Linked DNA regions of Homo sapiens: all the other regions are linked to region 3. Evidence: promoter capture Hi-C in 16 types of primary human blood cells and fetal thymus (Javierre and others, 2016). All regions are on one chromosome and are shown on one strand. The core of a region is centred on a gene start or on the middle of the fragment in contact, and the rest is flanking DNA. Distances in the headings are between cores, read along the strand shown.

Region 1 (2,815 bases), core at 96-2,595, 290 kb before region 3:
GTACAGCCCTAAGAATATGCATTCCCTCTGACCAGCAATTACTCCTCTGGGAATTGACACTGAGGACATATCCTAAACCTAGATAGAGTCTTATGCATAAAATGTTGATCTCAACATTCATAGATTATAAAAACTGGGGCCAAGCATGGTGGCTCACGCCTGTAATCCCAGCACTTTGGGAGGCGGAGGTAGGCGATCGCTTGAGGCCAGGAGTTCCAGACCAGCCAGCCTGTCCAACATGGTGAAACCCCGTCTCTATTAAAAATACAAAAGTTAGCCGGTGTGGTGGCACGCACCTGTAGTCCCAGCTCCTCCGAGGCTAAGGCAGGAGAATTGGTTGAACCTGGGAGGCAGAGGTTGCAGTGAGGCGAGATCGTGCCACTGCACTCCAGCCTGGGCCAACAGAGCAAGACTCCGTCTCAAAACAAAGCAAAAAAACTCATCAAGCTGAATACTTAAGATCTGCATTCTACTGAATGTTAATTATATCTCAATAAAAAATAAACACACAAACAATATACTTAAAATAAAACTGGGAAAATCTTCTCCCTAAATTCAAAGCACACTAGTCAGGAGTCAGGCAATAAAATGTTCTTCAGGGACAGTCCCCCCTCAAGTGCCACATTTGCTGGGAAAATTCTCCCCTTCTCCCAGCCACCTCTTGGTGCACAACCCTCTCCTGCATGCAGACCACAGTCTACTTCCTATCACAGGTAGATACAGAGGTGGCCTCTCTCCCCAAGACAGCAGGGCCCTGGGGGGCAGACTGGACGTCCTCAGTATGTCCCCACTGCTGAAGTCCCAAACCCCACCAAGCAGGGCCCTATGACTATCAGAGCCCACGAAAATCAGATGGCCACACCATTACCTCGGGGAAGGGTCCCTCCAGTCCCCCCTCTTGTTGGCTTTCTTGGCTCTGGAGAAATCGTTCACCCAAACGCTGCCAAACAAACCAAAGCTGACACGCAGCCACCTCCCAGCATCTCCTGCAGGGGCGTCTCTCTCCAAATACTCAGAATCATCCTCGCCCTGGGGGACGAGCTCTGCAGACCGTGAGGATCCATCAAGGGTCTTCTGCCCGCTGGGCTCCCCGACCTGCTTTGGGTCCGCAGCCCCTTCCTTCTGCACTTCTTTTTGTGGAGGCTCTGGTGTTGGGCTGCTGCCAGGGGGCCCCATTTCTTCATCTAGATCAAATCTAAGGAATAATTTCTTTCCATGGACCTAGAAAAAATGAACAGAGATCCAAGCCTTACAGACCCAGAGAGGGGAACTGGGGAATGCGGATATTTATCCTATTGCAAAGGTCTTCCTTCTCACCCCTCCTGGGGGGCCTTCCCAAATGAAGTCTTTGGACTCTGCCTTTTGCTCTTTTGCTCCAGTGGTGTGAGCAGTTCGCATGTGGTTTTCAAAGTGACTGGGAGCAAGGAGACTTAGTTGGCAGTGAAACACACCCATGCAAGATGGCAAGGCCACCCTGGAATACCTGAAGGGAATCGCTCCCAATTTTTTCATGCAGTAGCTAAGAAATGAACATAAGTTGTCATTCCTTCATTCCATTCGTAATACATTTTCTATGCCAGAAATAAGCGGTGCGTGGGAATGCACACATACAGAGCAGCTAAAGACAACACCCTGTGAAACTGGGTACCCCTCGCTACCCCCTCCACCAGCATATTGGACTTGATAAGGAAACTGTAATCAATAAAAATTAGATACTGAAACAAAAATTGATCAGTGAATCAGATCACCACTCTAAAAAGTATAAGGCAAAGGACCCACCTCATCTCACTGAAAATGATTTCAGTAGAAGAAAATAAATATAGAAAATGTGTGTTAAAGGATGTTCTGCTGTCTTTTTTTTTTTTTTTTTTTTTTCAGATGGAGTCTCGCCTAGACTGGAGTGTAGTGGCACCATCTTGGCTCACTGCAGCCTCCATCTCCTGGGTTCAAGTGATTCTCTTGCCTCAGCTTCCCAAGTAGCTGGGACTGTAGGTGCACACCACCACCCCCAGCTAATTTTTGTATATTTAGCAGAGACCACGTCTCACCACGTTAGCAAGGCTGGTCTCGAACTCCTGACCTCAAGCGATCTGCCCGTCTTGGCCTCCCAAAGTGTTGGGATTCCAGGCATGAGCCACCATGCCTGGGCCCTTGCTTTGACTTTATTTTCATATTGCACCTCCTGATATGCAATATGTAGGCCTAGATTCCAGGATGAGTCAGTTCTACACAGCCTGAAATTCAGGCAGTCTTTCAAGGAGTATAAACCAAAATATCTGGCATTAATACTGGAAATGCCTGTGTTACTTTCTTGACCACTACAGGTCCGTGCTTAAAGATCACTGTTCTGGTATGATCTTTAACTTGTTAATTAGTACACAAATTAATCTTGAAGTCCTCCACCCAAAAGAGCATTACCTTTCGAAATAATCCCAGAATAGCTTATCTGTAAATCTGAGCACAGATTGTTATCTGCCACATATTAGAAATGGTTTAACTGACCTACATAAAAAAAAAAAAAAAAAAAACTGAGCAAGGATTTAAGTGGGCATAATAGAATTTGCTGCAGAAAATATTTCTTGGTATAAACTCACCAATGTTGATATAATTCTGATGAAAATAACTGTCAAATGCCCATCATGAACAAAACATTTACTAGGTCAAAAATGTCTAGGTCAGGATGTCCTCATACCAACTATGGCAATTTCTGCTGTCCCTCTTTTGGGTTCCTGTGACACTGCAGCCACTTCAATTCACTAATCATTAATTAAGCTTATTCAATGTGCCTGGCAGTGTGCTAGGCTCCAAGGGCAAA
Region 2 (2,700 bases), core at 16-2,515, 470 kb before region 3:
TCAAAGATCGAACTTCCAGGGAAGAGAGATGGACATTGCAATTTCTGCCGAGAACCTCAGGACACATATTCCACATCCAACCCTGGGGACCTCCCAAGACAAGTGAGCTCGCTCCTCTTCTCAGCCCTCACTCTGCTCCGATCTCCAGGCTAAAGCACCCAGCTGCGTTGATTCCCAGGACACTACTCAGAGCTGTGTCTGAGCGGCCCCCACTCCTGCTGCACTCCCATTTGTTTCAAGCAGGATATTTCACATCTGGTCCTGCCCGAAGACAGAGAAAGAATGGGATGCTCTTGTCTCTAATCTCAGATTCCAAAATTCCATGAATACAGCTTGAGACCAAACTCATTTTGTGGGAGTTCACACCACTGACTACTCATATGAATTTTCCATCTACAAAAGCCAGTCATGCTTTGTCTCAAAGATGGTAATTAACCTTTACCTTCCCAAAATGGATGCTTATGGTACTGATTTTGGTTTTACCTGAGGGTGCAACCTTCCATTTATCCCAGTTTGACTTCATTTTATTAGACTTGGCCTCTCATGCCAACCTGTTGAGATCGTCTAGGTTTCAGATTCTGCCACCCTCTGGCGTGGCAAGAAACTCATTGTAGGGATGGGAGAGATGGACAGCACCTCTCCCAGGATTTTTTTCTTTAAGAGACAGAGTCTTGTTCTGTCACCCAGGCTGGAGTGCAGTGGCACCATCATGGCTCACTGCAGCCTCAATCCTCTGGGCTCAAGCAATCCTCCCATCTCAGCCTCCTGAGTAGCTAGGACTACAGGTGTGCACGACCATGCCTGGTTAAATTTTAATTTTTTATAGAGATGGGGGGAGGGTCTCACTATGTTGCCCAAGAAGGTCTCAAACTCCTGGCCTCAAGTGATCCTTCTGCCTCAGCCTCATGAAATGCTGCGTTTGGATTACTATTATTTTGGTAGAGAGGTGCAACCAGCTAGGCTTAGGGAACGCCTGTACCCCGCGACTTCATCCTGGGATCCCTGTCTTGAGTTGTGTAAGTTTGGGGCAACAATGAGTAAACTATGAGGTGGGGGAGGTCAAGCTTTATAGGCTTCTGCCCTTGTCTACTGCTGGTTACTTCCTCCTTCACCGGAGCACCTGCCACCCCACTCTCAGCAACGTTCATCTCGAAGAGGCTGAGACAAGCTGAATCCACAAAGGGAATCTCAATTGTAAGGATCAACAAACTTTTTCTGTGAAGGCCAGAGAGTAAATATTGTAGGCTTTGCAGGGCATGCAGTCCACATCACAACTACTCAACTCTGTGATGGAGTCAAAGTAGCTGTAGACAATATATGTGTGAAGCCGTGTTTCAATAAAACTTTATTTATACAAACAGACAGTTGTCAGATTTAGCCCACAGGGTGCAATTTGCCAACTCCTACTCCACTGGGATATTTCAGCTGCTGTGGCCTACCACAGAGCGCCACACAGAGAAGCTTGCACCAAGACTCTGCCCTCAAGCAGCTTCTAATCTACACGTTTGTGAAAGATGAGTAAGTATAGGAAGGGGGAACATGTAATAATATTCTTTCATATCATCACAGCTTTTCCATTCACTCCTAGAGGGTTTACCCTGCACTCGCTGTGTGCCAGGCACTGTGCTCGGCCCGTGGGAAGGTAGAGATGAAGTCCCCACACTGCCCCAGGGAGTGCCCCATTCCCTCTGGAGCTGTGTGAACAAGGCTCTGGCCTTCTCTCCAGGAATACCAAAGGGAGCACAGAGACCAGAGGGCAAAGGAGGAACGGCAAAAATGGAGTGCCTAAATCACCTGCACACCTTCCGTCCTCAGCCCTCCGGTGTGACTTTGGATGACTTATGAGCTCTAAATCTCAGCTCCTCCTCCTATTTGAGGAAACAATGCTTATCCCCAAGGATTGTTATGAAGCTTAAATGACACATGTGCAAAGCACAGGGCCTGAAACAAACTAGATGCTTACTAATTGATACTTTTGTTTCTTTATCTATGAAAGGATAAAAAAATACTTCCCAATGGGGCTGTGCAAGATGGATCACACCTGTAATCCCAGCATTTGGGAGGCCAGGGTGGGAGGACCACTTGAACCTAGGAGTTCAAGACCAGCCTAGGCAACATAGCAAGACCCTGTCTCAAAAAAAATTTTTTTAATTTAAAAATAATTTAAAAATTTTTCAAAAAGCTTTCTGATGAACACTACTGCTGACCATTCCATGCAATTCTGAGTAGTGTTATTCCCTCTAGAGCATCCCAAAATGCCAAAATTCATTCATTTATTCATTCATTCAGGTATTCTTCTTACAAACATATAATTCTCGCCTACTATGTAAGTAGACACCCTCCAAAAAGCCTGGAGGTCTGTCCTCTTTGAGTTTACAGCATAGTAGAGATGATAAACTAAAAAATAAATAAAAATAAACAAGCTAATAATTACAAAAATGGCAATTGTTTGGAAGGAAGAGTGCAGGGAAAGATTTATATATGTACATGTGCGAACGTGTGTACATACATACACACATGTAATGTGCTGCACAACATACGTACCACACTCAGATCAAGGTATCAGATGTTCCCACCACCCCAGAAAAGTCCCTCATGCCATTCTCAGGCATTAACCCTACCAGAGACAACTACTACTCTAAATTCTGTGACCATCAGTGAATTTTGTCTGTGGCTGAACTTGGTGTTAATGGAATCACA
Region 3 (2,700 bases), core at 21-2,520:
TTTCTTTGTTTTTCATGACCTTGACATTTTTGAAGGTGAAATATGTTGTGGAATCTTCCCCAGTTTGGATTTGTCTGATGTTTTCTCATGATTTGACTGGGGTTATGAGTTGGTGGGAAGAACCGCACTGTCGTGGCAGTTCACAATAGCAGCCCAGCTTATTCCCGGTGATGCTAAGCTTGGTCCCTTGGTGAAGCTGGCATCTGCAGGTTTCTCCTCTACAGAGCTACTATTTCTCCCTTTCCATACTCTTAGTCCAAACCTCACTCAAGGTGAGGGGAATTAAGTCCCACTCTCCCGAGGGAGGAGGATATGCACATATCACAGCAATTTCTTCTGTTACTGCAAACGCACAATTCCTTAGTTCCTTGGTAATGTGGGTGGATGAGGGTGAACTTCATCCACCCGCATTACCAGATAAATGGAAACGTTGTCAAAACCTTACAATTTACACAAATCCTTTCAAAATATGTGATCAACTATGCTTTCCTTTTCACAGTTGGTGTTTCCTGGTGAAATAGATCTCTTAAACAAGAAGATCATCATTACATCTATTCAGTTACCCCATTCCTGAATGCCTGAAAAATGGAACAACTTCATTCAGAAACAAACAAATAAAACGAAAGCAACAGTCATTTGCCTTGAGCCAGATGCTCCCCGCCTGTGACCACTAACCTCTGTCAGCTCTGCACAGTCAATATCACCTCCTATCAAGAGGCCGAGTGACTCGCCGGGAGCGCAGCAGTGGCCTGTGTGTGCCCGCTCAACCCCCTCTCTACATCCCACGTCCCTTCTCTCCTCTGTGGCACATTCACTGCCTTTTCCAAAAAGCAGAATCTACCCTGGATGGATGACCTTTTATAAATTAAAAATTCTCAAAACTGGAAATGCACAAACCATGGAGCAATCTATTCATAGCTGAGGCAGCGATCCATTCATGCCTCTTCCTCCGTCTGTGGCACCCACAGCAATGTCCTTGCTTGCTTGCCCCACTACAGGCCTTACAGCACCATTTGCACAATTTAAAGGAAGACGATAAAGAACCCGGAAGACGCAGGGCCTCACCTTGGCAATGCTTCAGTGGTGTTTCACCATAGCTCTTCAGATCCTGACACCCTTACAGTGGAGCAGGCTCCTAGCGACAACGAGCAACTTCCAACACCATCCTAAAGCAAAAGCCAGTCCCAGATGAATTCTTCTCATCTCAATCAGTTTTCATGGCTTGTGGCTTTCTGCCGGCAGCAGACAGAGGTGGCAGCACCCCCGGTCTGCGATCAGAGCCTCCCCAGTCCCCAGTGAGCAAGTGCAACAGGGGCCCCGCCCTCCAGCCGAGCCCTTCTGAAGCTCCTGTGGGCTCCCTGGGTTTGGGGGTATCCCTCTGCTCCAGGAAAACTCGTGAGGAAGGACCATGAGCAGCTGCCCTGTCCCTGGCCCTGGGCAACGTGGGTCACAATGCCCTTCTGTCACCAGAAAGTTTTCTCCTGGGGTTTTGGTTTAACAGCACGGCTGGTATTTTTTCTGCACCAAGTCCGGCAGAGTTAGCAAACCTCCATGCTGACTCTACAAGGTAATTTGCCCTGCCGTGTGGACAAACGCTGCAGATCTCATGGAGAGGGCTTGGGCTCTGCCATGTGCCATCTGTGTGCACCAGGGCAGCCGTTCTTTCAGCCTCACTGGTTTTGCTTTGTCTTTAAATGATGCTAATAATAGCTAGCTCACAGGATACTATCAGCATTAAATGGTAGAATGGGTATGAATGGTGGGCATAGAATTGGTGTTTGGTAAAAGCTAATTTCCCATGTGTTTTACAGTACCCTAGCCAGTAGTTAGTTGACTTGGATCTCAGAGCCTCTTCAATGGTGGAAATTTGCTTGGCTATGAAAACTCAGAGGAGTAGAGAACAAGAATAATGGAGGTAACGGGAGAAGGATCCCAACATCTAGAGTGGTGAGTGGTGTCTGGAGTGGTGGGTGGCATCCTGTACACAGCAGTCAAAGGACCAATGGGACCAAGAAGGCTTCTGTGATGACGTCAGAGTCTTGCTGGTCCAGCCAGACACAGTGAGCCACTGGTCAGCTGGTTCCTTTCCACTAGTGTCTTGATATTGGCTTATAAGAGGAAGTCACTCGGTGGGCTCTCTCTTCTCCCTTCATAGTCTTGGATCCTTGAGAGTGGGTGTGGGAGGCAGACAGGGTAGCTTCTACCCCATGGTCCAGAATGTCAGCTTTCTCAAGGAGTTCATTTCCTTGGATTGGACTGAGACAATACTGAGCTATGAGTTGCAGGTTTGACAGGTGTTCATGTCAATAGACGCAGCAACGCAGAGTTCTGGGGTTTTAAGACACTATGGAAATAATCTGTTTCACTTCCCCAAGGGGTTTTGTGAGAATAAATGGATTCATGCATAAAAAGTATCTATTACAGTATTTAGCACATAATAAACTGCAAATACCTGGAAGCTGATGTGAATGTGGCTAATTGCTTTAAATCCCAAAGCTGATCTTCTCCACGTGGTAGCAGAGGGCTCACAACAATGTCCAGAACCCTGGGCCTGCTCAGTCCATGGCAGCTCCTGTTAATTTACTCTTACATTCACTTCCTGATACCTACTACATGGATCCAAACATGAAACATGAGTTCCAAACTCTGCGAGCTTCTGATTTAAAAAGTGACTGATTTGAGATGAGGTAACTTAGTCTT
Region 4 (2,700 bases), core at 201-2,700, 370 kb before region 3:
CACGATCTCAGCTCACGGGTTCACGCCATTCTCCTGCCTCCGCCTCCCGAGTAGCTGGGACTACAGGCGCCCGCCACCACGCCCGGCTAATTTTTTGTATTTTTACTAGAGACGGGGTTTCACCGTGTTAGCCAGGATAATCTTGATCTCCTGACCTCGTGATCCGCCCGCCTCGGCCTCCCAAAGTGCTGGGATTACAGGCGTGAGCCACTGCACCCGGCTACTGCCTTCTTACTGTCGCCACAGCCTGGATAAAATACGATTCTTCTGAGCCTTTTTTTTTTTTTTAATACAGAGTTTCACTCTTGTTGCCTAGGCTGGAGTGCAATAGTGCGATCTCTGGTCACCGCAACCTCCGCCTCCCGGGTTCAAGCGATTCTCCTGCTTCAGTCTCCCGAGTAGCTGGGATTACTGACACGCGCCACCACGCCCGGCTAGTTTTGTATTTTTAGTAGAGACGGGGTTTCTCCATGTTGGTCAGGATGGTCTCGAACTCCCGACCTCAGGTGACTCACCGGCCTCGGCCTCCCAAAATGCTGGGATTACAGGCGTGAGCCACCGAACCCAGCCCCTCTGAGCCTCTTGAATACAACTGGGGTCATGCCTGCTTTGCAGGTTTGTCTTAAGGATTAAAGCTGTTTGGGGAGTGTCTGGAGGAGGGTGAGTCTTGAGCCAACCCCTGCATCTCCCTTCCAGGGCCTCCCGGTAATAAACCCCAAGTAAATGTGCACTTTGTCCGTCCTCTCGGAGCAGGTCTCCGGGTACTCCTGTGCCAAACCGATTTCCGCCCCCAAGGTCCTTCTCCTCTTAGAAATCCTGACGCAGCTCCTAGGTTCCTTCGCAGTGACAGCCACTCTTTTCTATTTGTACGTAGCTGTAGTGTTTTGTGGGTACGTTCTCTGAACAACAAAGTGGCCCTTCTAAAGGCTGTTCTGTGGGGTCCACAGCCTCGCCACCCCCAGCCTCTGCAGCGGCTTCTGAATGAATGAAATAAGCGACGGCGCCCTCTCCACCACCCCACCCCCGCCAACTCGGCAGGCAGGGATCCCAGGCGCGGGTTCTGGCGGAGGCGGTCCCGCGAGGCGGGGGGACTTTTCTAGGCGGGGTGGGGGCCTTGGGACCACCTTTAGGGGCTTTTTCCCCATCCCCTGGCCCCAATTCGCAGCGTTTCGCCACCCAGGGCCCGCAGGGCTCCAAGCCCTTCTTCCCCAGCCCGCGCGCTCAGGCCCCCGCCCGCCCCCGGCGGTGGCCCCGGACCCCGAGCGGAAGGGGGCGGGGGGTGTGCGGGGCCGGGAAGCGGGGAGCGCGGGCGGCGGAAGGTGGCGGGAGGGGGTGGGGGCTGGGAAGCACCGTGCGCGGGCGGCGGGAGGGCCCGGGCGGGGCTGCGCGGTGGTCACGTGGGGCGGGGCCGGGAGGGTACTTAGGGCCGGGGCTGGCCCAGGCTACGGCGGCTGCAGGGCTCCGGCAACCGCTCCGGCAACGCCAACCGCTCCGCTGCGCGCAGGCTGGGCTGCAGGCTCTCGGCTGCAGCGCTGGGTGAGTGCTGGGGACCCGGGGCCACCGCAGCGTAAGTGACCTTGGCGGGGACGGTGCTACCCGGCCGCCGAGACGGGTTCCTCTGCGCCCTCAGTCGGGCCCAGGCGCGGCCCCGCGGCGTCCCTGGGGGCCGGCGGGGAGCCGGGACCCTCGGGACTGTCCCTGACGGGCGGGCTGGGGTGGGAGTCCGCGCGCTCCGAAGCGTCGGCGAGAAAAGCAGAAAACAGCTCCGCCCGCCAGCCCTCTGCCCTCCGCTCCCCTCCCCGGGCTGTGCGCCGGACCCCGGCCCTCGGAGCGGGGACGCGGCCAGGACCGCCGAGGGAGGCGCCTGCGAGGAAGAGCTCGGCCGGGTCCGGAGACTGCTGCCTGGGACCGCGCTCCCAGCGCCTGGGCCTCGGTGTCTCCGGGCCAAACTGCCGACATAATCGCATCTGCCGGCATCTATTTTCGGTTTATTTCCCCCTCATTGCGAAGGATTTGCCTGGCCAACTTTCTGCGCAAGATCCCACGCAATTCCTGGGACCCCAGAAGACAGGTCCTGTTGAAGAACAGGAATCTGGCACTGGGTGGGCTGGGGAGGAAGCCGCACGGTGTTAAATCCATAAACAGGAAGAGAAACCAGACAGCGAAACCAAGAGGCGAATGGGCGATTGGATGCCGGTGGGGAGAAGGCCGGGGGCGCACCCTGCTCCTGGACTCCAGTAAAGGGAGGCCGGGCAGAGTCCCTGGGGCGCCACCTCCCCCTCGGTTAGTAGCCCTGGAGGCCGGGGGGAGTTGGCCTCTGGGGAGCAGTGGGTGCTGGGTGTGGGGCGTTGCAGGCAGGCTGGGGTGGGCGACCCAGGTGGAAGTGAATTGCACTTGGCTTCCTGGTGGGCCTCTGTCACCCCCTTCCCAGGCGCTGAGAAAGCCAGCAGGCTGGCAAAGAAAAGGACCCTAGCGCAGGCCCCACACTCCTCCTCCTAACGGACGAGAGACCCCCCAAACCCACTGGAGAAGTGACGCTGTGGGGTTCAAATGCAGACCTGGCACCTTTTTGTAGCCTGGAAAAACATTCCCACTGCCTGCTGCCGGAGGAGAGGATAGCTGAGATGCACTCTCTTTGAATCCAAACGTTCAGGAACGTAAGGCGAAGAGGCCTAAGAGGGCGTTGGCTGGCTCTGTCTC
Region 5 (2,700 bases), core at 54-2,553, 390 kb before region 3:
ATTATTCAATCACTGCCCACCAGGTTCCTCCCACGACACATGGGAATTCTTGCAGTTACAATTCAAGATGAGATTTGGGTGGAGACACAGCCAAACCATGTGCAGTGGCACAATCGGCCCACTGCAACCTCTGCCATCCAGGTTCAAGCAATTCTCATGCCTCAGCCTCCTGAGTAGCTGGGATTACAGGCATGTGCCAGCACACCTGGCTGATTTTTGTATTTTTAGTAGAGACAAGGTTTCACCATGTTGGCCAGGCTGGTCTTGAACTCCTGACCTCAAGTGATCTGCCCACCTCAGCCTCCCAACATGCTGATGCCTGGCCCGATTTCTTCTTTTTCAATATAATGTGGAATTATCTGATATCTGGATCCAATTTAGTTGTTTATGGAACTGAAACTTCCATTTATTTTGTGGATTATTTCCAAAAACTGATTGGGACTTTGTGTCCGATTTCATTCGTTTCTGTGTGTCATCAAAAGCTGTATTTGTTATGGAGATTAATAATATGTTCTAATTCCCCAGAACTTAGCCATGTCTAACCCTGATATGGACAAGGTTCCATCACCTTTTATAAGACCTTTACAGTAAGTCTTCAATAAATATTTGTTGAATGAATGAGTAAATGACTGAATGGATGGGTGAATGGACACTTTCGCTGGCTTGGGTTTGGGCAGACAGTAGGAAGTGGGGGCCACTGTTTCACCAAAGGAATCACGCTGGAGAAAATCCCTGCATAGCATTGAGTTGTGCAACTATAAATCTATTCCCATAAATTCCAATCAATCCTGTAAACTTCAGAGCAAAAATGCCAGGCTGTGTTAGTTTGCTCAGGCTTCCGTAACAAAATACCACAGGCTGGGCAACTTAACAATAGGCGTTCGTTTTCTCACAGTTTTGGAGGTTAGAAGTCTGAGATCAAGGTGTTGGCATGGCTGGTTTCTCCTCAGGCTATGCCTTCTCCGTGTCCCCACATGTTGTTGGGTTTTTTTTTTTTTCTGTGTATGTGCAGCCTTCATGTCTCTCCCTCCTCCTATAAGGACACCAATCAGATTGAATTAGAGCCCACCCTAACAGCCTCGTTTAACTTAACTACCTCTTTAAAGACCGTGTCTCCAAAGACTGGGTGTGGTGGCTCACAATGTAATCCCAGCACTTTGGGAGGTGGGAGCGAAAAGATTGCTGGAGCCCAGGAGTTTGAGACCAGCAGGGCAACATAGTGAGGCTCTGTCTCTACAAACTGTTTAAAAAAACAGCTGGGTGTGGTGGCGCATGCCTGTAGTCCCAGCTACTCAGGAGGCTGAGGCAGGAGGATCGCTTCAGCCAGGTAGAAGAGGCTACAGTGAGCTATGATCATGCCACTGCACTCCAGCCTGGGCAACACAGCAAGATCCTGTCTCTAAAACAAAACAAAAATCAAAACCTTATCTCCAAATATAGTCACATTCTAAGGTAGTTGGGCTTAGGACGTCACTGTGTGACTTTGAGGGAAGTCACTATTTAGACCATACCACAGACCAGGCCTCGTTTTTGCAGGCCTTCCTGTCCTTGCCTCTCACCATCAGACCCTGTCAGTCCCCAAGTCAGTTGACTGAGGAGCCTTCTATCAGCAGCCCCAGACCATTCTTATGGGGGTGTGAGGGGACAGTGCAGGTCCCTAGAGGATATGTCCATCTTCTTTACTCTGGGGATCAGCCCAGAGTCTGGGGGCCACAGTGGACCCCTCTGAACAGCTGCTCCCCAACCCACACACTCCCACTCCCTTCAATGGGGCACCTCCCTACACGCCCGGCCCTCCTGCACTGCTCCTCAATTCCCATCCCTAACCTTGTCTCCTCACACAACTCCAAACCCTGAACTGCCTCCCAATGGCCCTCAGATTTAGCAGTGGCTGTAGACAGATTCGTGCAGGCACAAACCCTGATAGTAGGAAGCTCCCGAGGTGCCACTCCGCCCGAGCCCACGAGCATAGCGCTCACCCTTCCGGCGGTCCTCCCTCCCTCGTTGCTGTTCCTCCTCTTCCCCTTCCTGATCCCTCCTTGGATGGCTGACCTTTCAGCTTAAAGTCTCTGGCTCACTCCTGGGACCTGTGGAGAACGTTTTGGTTTGGTTTGGTTTTGGCTGTTCTCGCTACGCTGGTGAACTCTCAGTCCCGTGGAACTGATGCCATCTGTGCACTGATTGATTGCAAATCCATGTCCCCAGCTTGGCTCTCTGTGAACTCCAGACTCAGCTCTGTTCAGTGTCTTGGCTCGAATGTTTAATAAGGCATCTCATTCTTGACATGCCCCAAACTGAGCTCCTGCTCTCCCCCATAAAACTTCCTCCTCTGAAGTCTTCCCCACCCACGTTTATAGCATTCCCATTGTTGCACAACCATCTCCACCATCCATCTCCAGAACTTTCTCATCCCCCAGCTGAAACGCTACACCTATTAAACACTAGCTCCCCCTTCCCCAGCTCTTGACAGCCCCCATTCTACTTCCTGGGCCTGGGCTTTTACTTTGATGGTGTGGGCGCGATTGGTGGCCTTTGAGCAGAGGAGTGTATGATTTGACTTGGGTTTTAAAGAAGCCCTCGGGCGCTGCGTTGAGACTGACATGCCAGGCGTGAGGGAGAAAGCAGGACGCAGGGGGTCATTAGGAGGAGCCCAGAGGCTCAGCCAAAAAAAAAAAAAAAAGAAGCTGGGCGCATTGGGTC
Region 6 (2,700 bases), core at 1-2,500, 260 kb before region 3:
GGTCCAGCCTGAGCACTGGGTCTTTGCAGTCGGCAATGATCAGGCCCCAGCTTGAGTTGAGCCTGCTTCGAAAGCTCCCAACACGTTCCATGGCAATTGTTACTTTTTTGCTGGGCTCTTCATCCTGTCCTGAAAGGCCAGGGATGTCCGATGCTGTCACCACCCCCTGGCGGCCCGGGCTGGCCTGCCTAACCCGGAAGATATGATTCTTAGGCACTCTGAGGGCTCCTGATGTACTCATATAATCACTCACAGATCTTTTCCTCACCTGCTGGTGTCTTAGATTTATTCAGGTTCTTGGGCTTCCGTTTTCTGGTTTGGATCCCCTCTTTCCGCATTGCAAGAGGCCTGGGGACCTGGAGGGTCACAAGTAAATATATAGGGTTTTCCATTTCTGCGTAGTCTGCTACAGCATTGAAAGACACACACCTGCTGCGAGAAGGCAACACCTAAGCAATCTCTCCACAAAGCCTGGGGCCCAGACGGGCTGCACAGGCCCCTGGAACTCAGCGAGAAAGAAATCAATTCCATTTTTAAAAAACTTATCGAGCACCTGTGTGATGTGATGGCTACTTTACTAGAGCCTGGAGAATAGGGAACTAAAGACACACAGCTCCTACCCTCAGAAATTCACAGACAAGGAGAAATAACCAGACTCTGGTCGGTGATGTAAAAAGACAGAGAAACACTAAACTCTGTCCTGGGGTGAGGAGTGGGAAGGAGGGGCACGTGAGGATATCAAGGAAGGCTTCAGTGTGGAGGTGACACCTGAGTTTGTAAAAGGTTTTGAGTAGACAGAGGCAGGCATTTCAGGCAGCAGAGACAGACTGTTCAAAAGCCTTTATCATCCACACAAGGACCCTGAAAACAAAAAGTGGGTGCTAGGCCAGGCACAGTGGCTCATGCCTGTAATCCCAGCACTTTGGGTGGCCGAGGTGGGAGGACTGCTTGAGCCCAGGAGTTCGAGACCATCCTTGGCAACATAGTGAGACCCCATCTCTACAAAAAAGTTTTAAAATTAGCTGGGCACGGTGCTGCATGCCTGTAGTCCCAGCTACTCAGAAGGCTGAGATAGGAGGATCCCTTGAACCCAGGAAGTCGAGGCTCCAGCAAGCCGTGATCGTGCCACTGCACTCCAGCCTGGGTGGTGGAGCAAGGCCCTATCTTCAAAAGGTGTGAGGGTGCAGCGGTGCTATCAATTATTGTGCTGGGAAAATTGGCCTCAACAGCAACAGTCCCAGTGAGTTGAGATGTAACATCACTCTACTTATTGCAGCTCTGTACTGCATTGGGTCTGGCTGGAGCCATTGGTGCTTCTGTGAATGGTGGGGAGCAGTAAGAGACTATGCTAGAGACTGCCCTGTGACCAGGTTCTGAGATAAAATGTCCCTGGACAACACTTTGACCACAGTTCTGTTGGGAGGCAGGCCCCAGAGCCATTCACAGATGCCTAAGCCAGTCCTGGGGAGCAGGACTGCAGGGTGCCTTCCCCACATCTGGTTTCTCTTAGGCTGAGCCAAATCTTTTAGCCCCTTTTCTATGCTGTGCTTGTCTACCATGTGGGATTGATAAAGGCCACACCTGCAAATACAGAAAGAAAAGCAATTACTGCTTCAGAGACATGAACACGCAATGGTTAAGCGAGAAATGCACCAGCATATGTGAACTTGAACTGGCCTCCTATTTAACTGTGGGTAGATGGGGTGGCACTTGCACCCCCCGACCCCACCATCTGCACATCTCTCTGTGACTCTACACCCAGACCCCTATTTCCCACCTTGTGGAAGGGTGTCCTCCCCCACCCCATCCCCCTAGCTATGCCTCAAATGTTCAAACCCATTCTGGCCTCAGAAGAATCTCCCCCTCACGTTAATCTCCATTCACTTAGGTATGCTTTTTTTTTTTCAGTTGCAGTAAAATGAAACACACCTAACTTAAAATTTACCATCTGAACCATTCTGAAGTATATTGCTCTGTAGTGTTAAGCGCATTCACACCGTTCTGCAAGCCTGACCACCATCCCCAGAACTCTTCTCGTCTTGCAAAACTCAAACTCCATACCCATTAAACATCACTCCTCATTCCCCCTTTCCCTAGCCCCCGACAGCCTCCATTCTACTTTCTGTCTCTATGGATTTGACATGTGGTGTCAGGGGCCAGAATTCCCTTCCTTTTAAAGGCTGAGTAATATCCTACGTGTATGTATATCACACTGTGTTTATCCGTTCATTTCTCCGTGGACACTTGGGTTGTTTACATCTTTCTGCAATTGTGAATCATGCTGCTATAAACAGCAGTGTACAAATAGCTCTTTGAGGCCCTGCCTTTAATTATTTTGGGTATATATCCAGAAATGGTACGCTGGATCATGTGGTAATTCTATTTTTTTATTTTCTGAGAATATAATCTTTTTAATACCTATATAATATTTCCCAATAAGTTTCTTGTACCATTCCCATATTGAAGAACAATAGTTTAACCATTTTCCTTCCAAAGGTTTTCTTTCCTCCATTTTTGCTATTACAGTGATTAACAAACATCCTTGTATACATGCTTTGTAGAAATATTTTCTTATGAATGTTCATAACTTTAGCCATTTGCTTGTTCATTATAACAAGAAATCATGAAAAGATACATGAGACTAAGTTAACAACAGCCCTCTCACTCTACTACCGTCAATCCTATCCCAGTGAGGCAAAT
Region 7 (2,829 bases), core at 219-2,718, 490 kb before region 3:
TTAAAAGTTTCCACTGTAATTACAAAATTACAGTGGAAATTTTGTAATTCCCTCAGTGTGTCTTTCATTTCCAAAAGTTCCATTTGTTTCTTTCTTGATGATACCTATCTCTCTGGAAAATTTTTCATTCAAATCCTGAACTGCTTTTTAATTTCTTTAAGATGGTTTCCACCTTTCTCCAATATCTTCTTGAGTAGCTTAATAATTAATCTTCATATTTCTTATCTGGTATTTCAAAGATTTCATCTTGATTTGAGTCCATTGCTGGATAGCTAGTGTGATCTTTTAGGTGTGTTATAGCACCTTGTTTTGTCATATTACTGGAGTTATTTTTCTGGTTCCTTCTCATTTGGATAGACTACTTCTTCTCGTTATTCTTGAATTTATATTTGATATGACTGTGTTTCTCTTATTTGCTTGTTTGTTTTTAAATTTCTTTTTTCCCCTTAAGGATGAGACTTTAATTCTTATAGTTAATTATAGCCTAATTCAGTTCTTGGTGCTTTAGAGGGTGAAGACCCTTGGTTATAGAGAGTCTTTGTATGATGGTTTTCTTATATGCTAGTTGTAGTAGCAATGTGCTCAGTGTGTGAGCAAGTTCACTGTGTCCTATGGGGTTGGAATGGTAGAGGTCTCTTAAAGCTTATCCCATTCCCCCATAGTGTGGACTTATTTATTTATTAATTTTCCCCCAGTATTTTATTTACTAATTTGATAGTTCAGGCTTCAGGCCAGTAGGGGAGGTGTCCCTGGGTAGGAACCAGCTGTGGCTAAAGCAGGTGGGTGAATGATGTCCCAGGCTTGACAGAGGAGGCCAGAGGAGCTCTCAGTGAGTTACACTGGGGTCTTATTGTGGGAAGGGTTGGAGCCACCTCAGCCCTGCTGCCAGATCACCAGGAAAGTTACCCACCTCTCAGGCATGCTCCTGTCCCAGTGTTCCTGCTGTTCAGGAGCTGACTGACAGGACTTTTTTTCATGACCTTTTTTTCATCTGTAGGAATGTTGATGTTCCAAATAGAGAGGAATTGTGGCTCTGCCTCTCATGCAACCTTGAACCTAGAGGGTGCTCCTCCTGTGGGGATGTGTTCCAGGAAGACTGTCTATAGTTGCACCCACACTAAGCTCCCATGGGAGAAGCCCAACTGTGCCTATGGTGGTGGATAACATGGGAAAGACTTCCTTTTCTCCAAGACCCTTCACATGCGCCAGAGCTGTCTGACTGTTGGGATACAGTGAAGACCTTCCTTGCTGAGCCCAGCACTTCAACTGTGTGTCTACTGAAGGAAGCCTTCCATCTGGTGCTCAAGGCCTGCCTCCTGGATTCTTTTGTCCCACAGGGTGTTCCCTTGATGTGATGCAGTCCTCCTTCCCCTGCAAGTGGGAGTCCCTGGAAGTCCCTGGGAGCCAGGTCACTGTGAGTGTTCTTGCTCCTCTGGGTCTAGCTGCCCAGAGAAGTTGACACACTCGAGGCTGGTGTTGGGGAATGTCTGCAAGGGATCCAGTTATGTGACCTATGCTCAAGTTTCCCTGCAGTGGGTAGCAGCACCAGCTCTAATGGGAGTGGCAAGGTTGTGACACAGATTCTGTGAAATTCCTTTGTTATTGATAGCCTTAGTATGTTAGCTTTCTTGAATGCGGGTTATAGTAGTAATGAACTGGTCATGTGGACGGACTCAGGACCTCCTGTTCAGCCAGAGTGGTGCAGGCAGCAGTGATAGCTGAGATCCCATAGCGGTTTTCTCCTTCCTGGGTGCAATGTTAATCTACCAGGAGATACTGTCAAGGACTGTGTGGGTTGGCCTCCAGCTAGGAGGTGGCGCTTGCAAAAGAGCAGCAGCTGCGGTAGTAGCCCTGGGATTTTTGCTTGCCTGATGTTGCCCAGAGGGGGATACTCTGGTTTCTCCGGACATGGGCGGGGCCATGTCGCTCCCAGGAGACTCTGTCCTTTGCGTTGAGTTACCAGGGCGGGTGGCCGGGCAAAGCCAGGTAGGGGCTGGGTCGGGAGGGCCTGCACACTGGTCTCCGTGTGCAGAGAAAGAAGGAGCTTCTATGGGTATTGGGGGATGGGAGCGGGTCTCAGGCCACTAGGTTAATGTTTCAGAGGGCAGCGTTGCTGCCCCTGCTGCACAGAAGAGTCTGTGCAAGAAGTAGGGAGTAGCAGGCGGTGGTAAGCTCCACAGTTCCTACCCACTTGACAAGGCAGATCCACTCCCACGGTGTTCCACTGGAAGCAGCGAGCTGAGTTCCTGTCAGCCTGTAATCAGAACTCGCGGCTGCCGGGAGTCATAAGCTTTCCCCGCAGAGATTGCAGTCCAGGCGTTCAGGCCACGCCCCTCCCTGTCCGCTGCAAAGCCGGCGTGTTCCCGTGGCTCCTGCACTTGCAGTTTCTGCACCCACGACTTCTGCACCTACGGCTCCTGCACTTGCAGCCCGCTTTTCACCCTCCCCGCCCCGGCCCTGGCCAAGGAAGTTCGTCCCCACCGAGGTTGTACTGTGAACCCCGTTGGGAGATTCTTTCAAACTGCAACCAGCGCCTGAACTTTGTAGCTGGCCGCAAGGCCTCCTGTGAGGAACAGTAAGGAATGGCTGCACTTAATCTACGCTGGGATCTGGAAGTGCATGCAAGGGTCTCCCCCTAAAAGTATGGAATAGTTTATAGTCCATAACCATCCCCAAGTCGGTTCCTGCGTTAGTTCGGGTTAGGGCTTCCCCGCCAGCACCCCCACCTTGTGTCCTGGACTTTCAGGATCCCTAGTGGGGATGTGTATCCCAGAGGCAAATTCACTCTGTCACACTCAGGGGACTCGCAGCCCTTCGACTGACTCAGTG

The links. The method cuts DNA at HindIII sites, captures the fragments that hold promoters and counts their contacts. A CHiCAGO score of 5 or more calls a contact.
Region 1: a fragment that was not itself captured here is called in contact with the fragment with the promoter of BLK in region 3 in 2 of 17 cell types (total B cells and naive B cells); the score reaches 6.8 in total B cells.
Region 2: a contact is called between a fragment that was not itself captured here and the fragment with the promoter of BLK in region 3, in 2 of 17 cell types (monocytes and total B cells). The highest score is 6.0, in monocytes.
Region 4: a contact is called between the fragment with the promoter of CTSB here and the fragment with the promoter of BLK in region 3, in 1 of 17 cell types (total B cells). The highest score is 8.6, in total B cells.
Region 5: a contact is called between a fragment that was not itself captured here and the fragment with the promoter of BLK in region 3, in 1 of 17 cell types (total B cells). The highest score is 6.2, in total B cells.
Region 6: a contact is called between a fragment that was not itself captured here and the fragment with the promoter of BLK in region 3, in 2 of 17 cell types (naive B cells and total B cells). The highest score is 7.2, in naive B cells.
Region 7: a contact is called between a fragment that was not itself captured here and the fragment with the promoter of BLK in region 3, in 4 of 17 cell types (M1 macrophages, M0 macrophages, M2 macrophages and 1 more). The highest score is 8.0, in M1 macrophages.

Annotation. Positions count from the first base shown.
Region 1 is chr8:11,778,004-11,780,818 of GRCh38, reverse strand. It overlaps NEIL2 (nei like DNA glycosylase 2), which reads right to left. Exons shown (of 5, transcript NM_145043.4): 3 at 869-1,221. Among named protein-coding and RNA genes, the nearest start is that of NEIL2, 9.7 kb to the right of the region's middle. The HindIII fragment of the contact is 2,858 bases long and covers 1-2,774 here.
Region 2 is chr8:11,960,607-11,963,306 of GRCh38, reverse strand. No RefSeq gene overlaps it. Among named protein-coding and RNA genes, the nearest start is that of DEFB136, 13 kb to the left of the region's middle. The HindIII fragment of the contact is 397 bases long and covers 1,067-1,463 here.
Region 3 is chr8:11,492,957-11,495,656 of GRCh38, reverse strand. BLK (BLK proto-oncogene, Src family tyrosine kinase) reads right to left here and starts at 1,270. Exons shown (of 13, transcript NM_001715.3): 1 at 1,066-1,270. RefSeq lists enhancers at 959-1,048, 1,059-1,248, 138-1,337 and cis regulatory regions at 957-2,577, 2,651-2,700. The HindIII fragment of the contact is 7,699 bases long and covers 181-2,700 here.
Region 4 is chr8:11,866,837-11,869,536 of GRCh38, reverse strand. It overlaps CTSB (cathepsin B), which reads left to right and starts at 1,450. Exons shown (of 10, transcript NM_001908.5): 1 at 1,450-1,536. RefSeq lists silencers at 1,297-1,416, 1,557-1,886 and an enhancer at 1,977-2,186. The HindIII fragment of the contact is 8,989 bases long and covers 1-2,700 here.
Region 5 is chr8:11,887,681-11,890,380 of GRCh38, reverse strand. No RefSeq gene overlaps it. Among named protein-coding and RNA genes, the nearest start is that of CTSB, 21 kb to the right of the region's middle. The HindIII fragment of the contact is 3,746 bases long and covers 1-2,700 here.
Region 6 is chr8:11,752,702-11,755,401 of GRCh38, reverse strand. It overlaps GATA4 (GATA binding protein 4), which reads right to left. Exons shown (of 7, transcript NM_001308093.3): 5 at 269-356. Among named protein-coding and RNA genes, the nearest start is that of LINC02905, 7.2 kb to the left of the region's middle. The HindIII fragment of the contact is 7,301 bases long and covers 1-2,700 here.
Region 7 is chr8:11,985,952-11,988,780 of GRCh38, reverse strand. No RefSeq gene overlaps it. Among named protein-coding and RNA genes, the nearest start is that of DEFB135, 5.1 kb to the right of the region's middle. RefSeq lists an enhancer at 1,881-2,381. The HindIII fragment of the contact is 1,648 bases long and covers 645-2,292 here.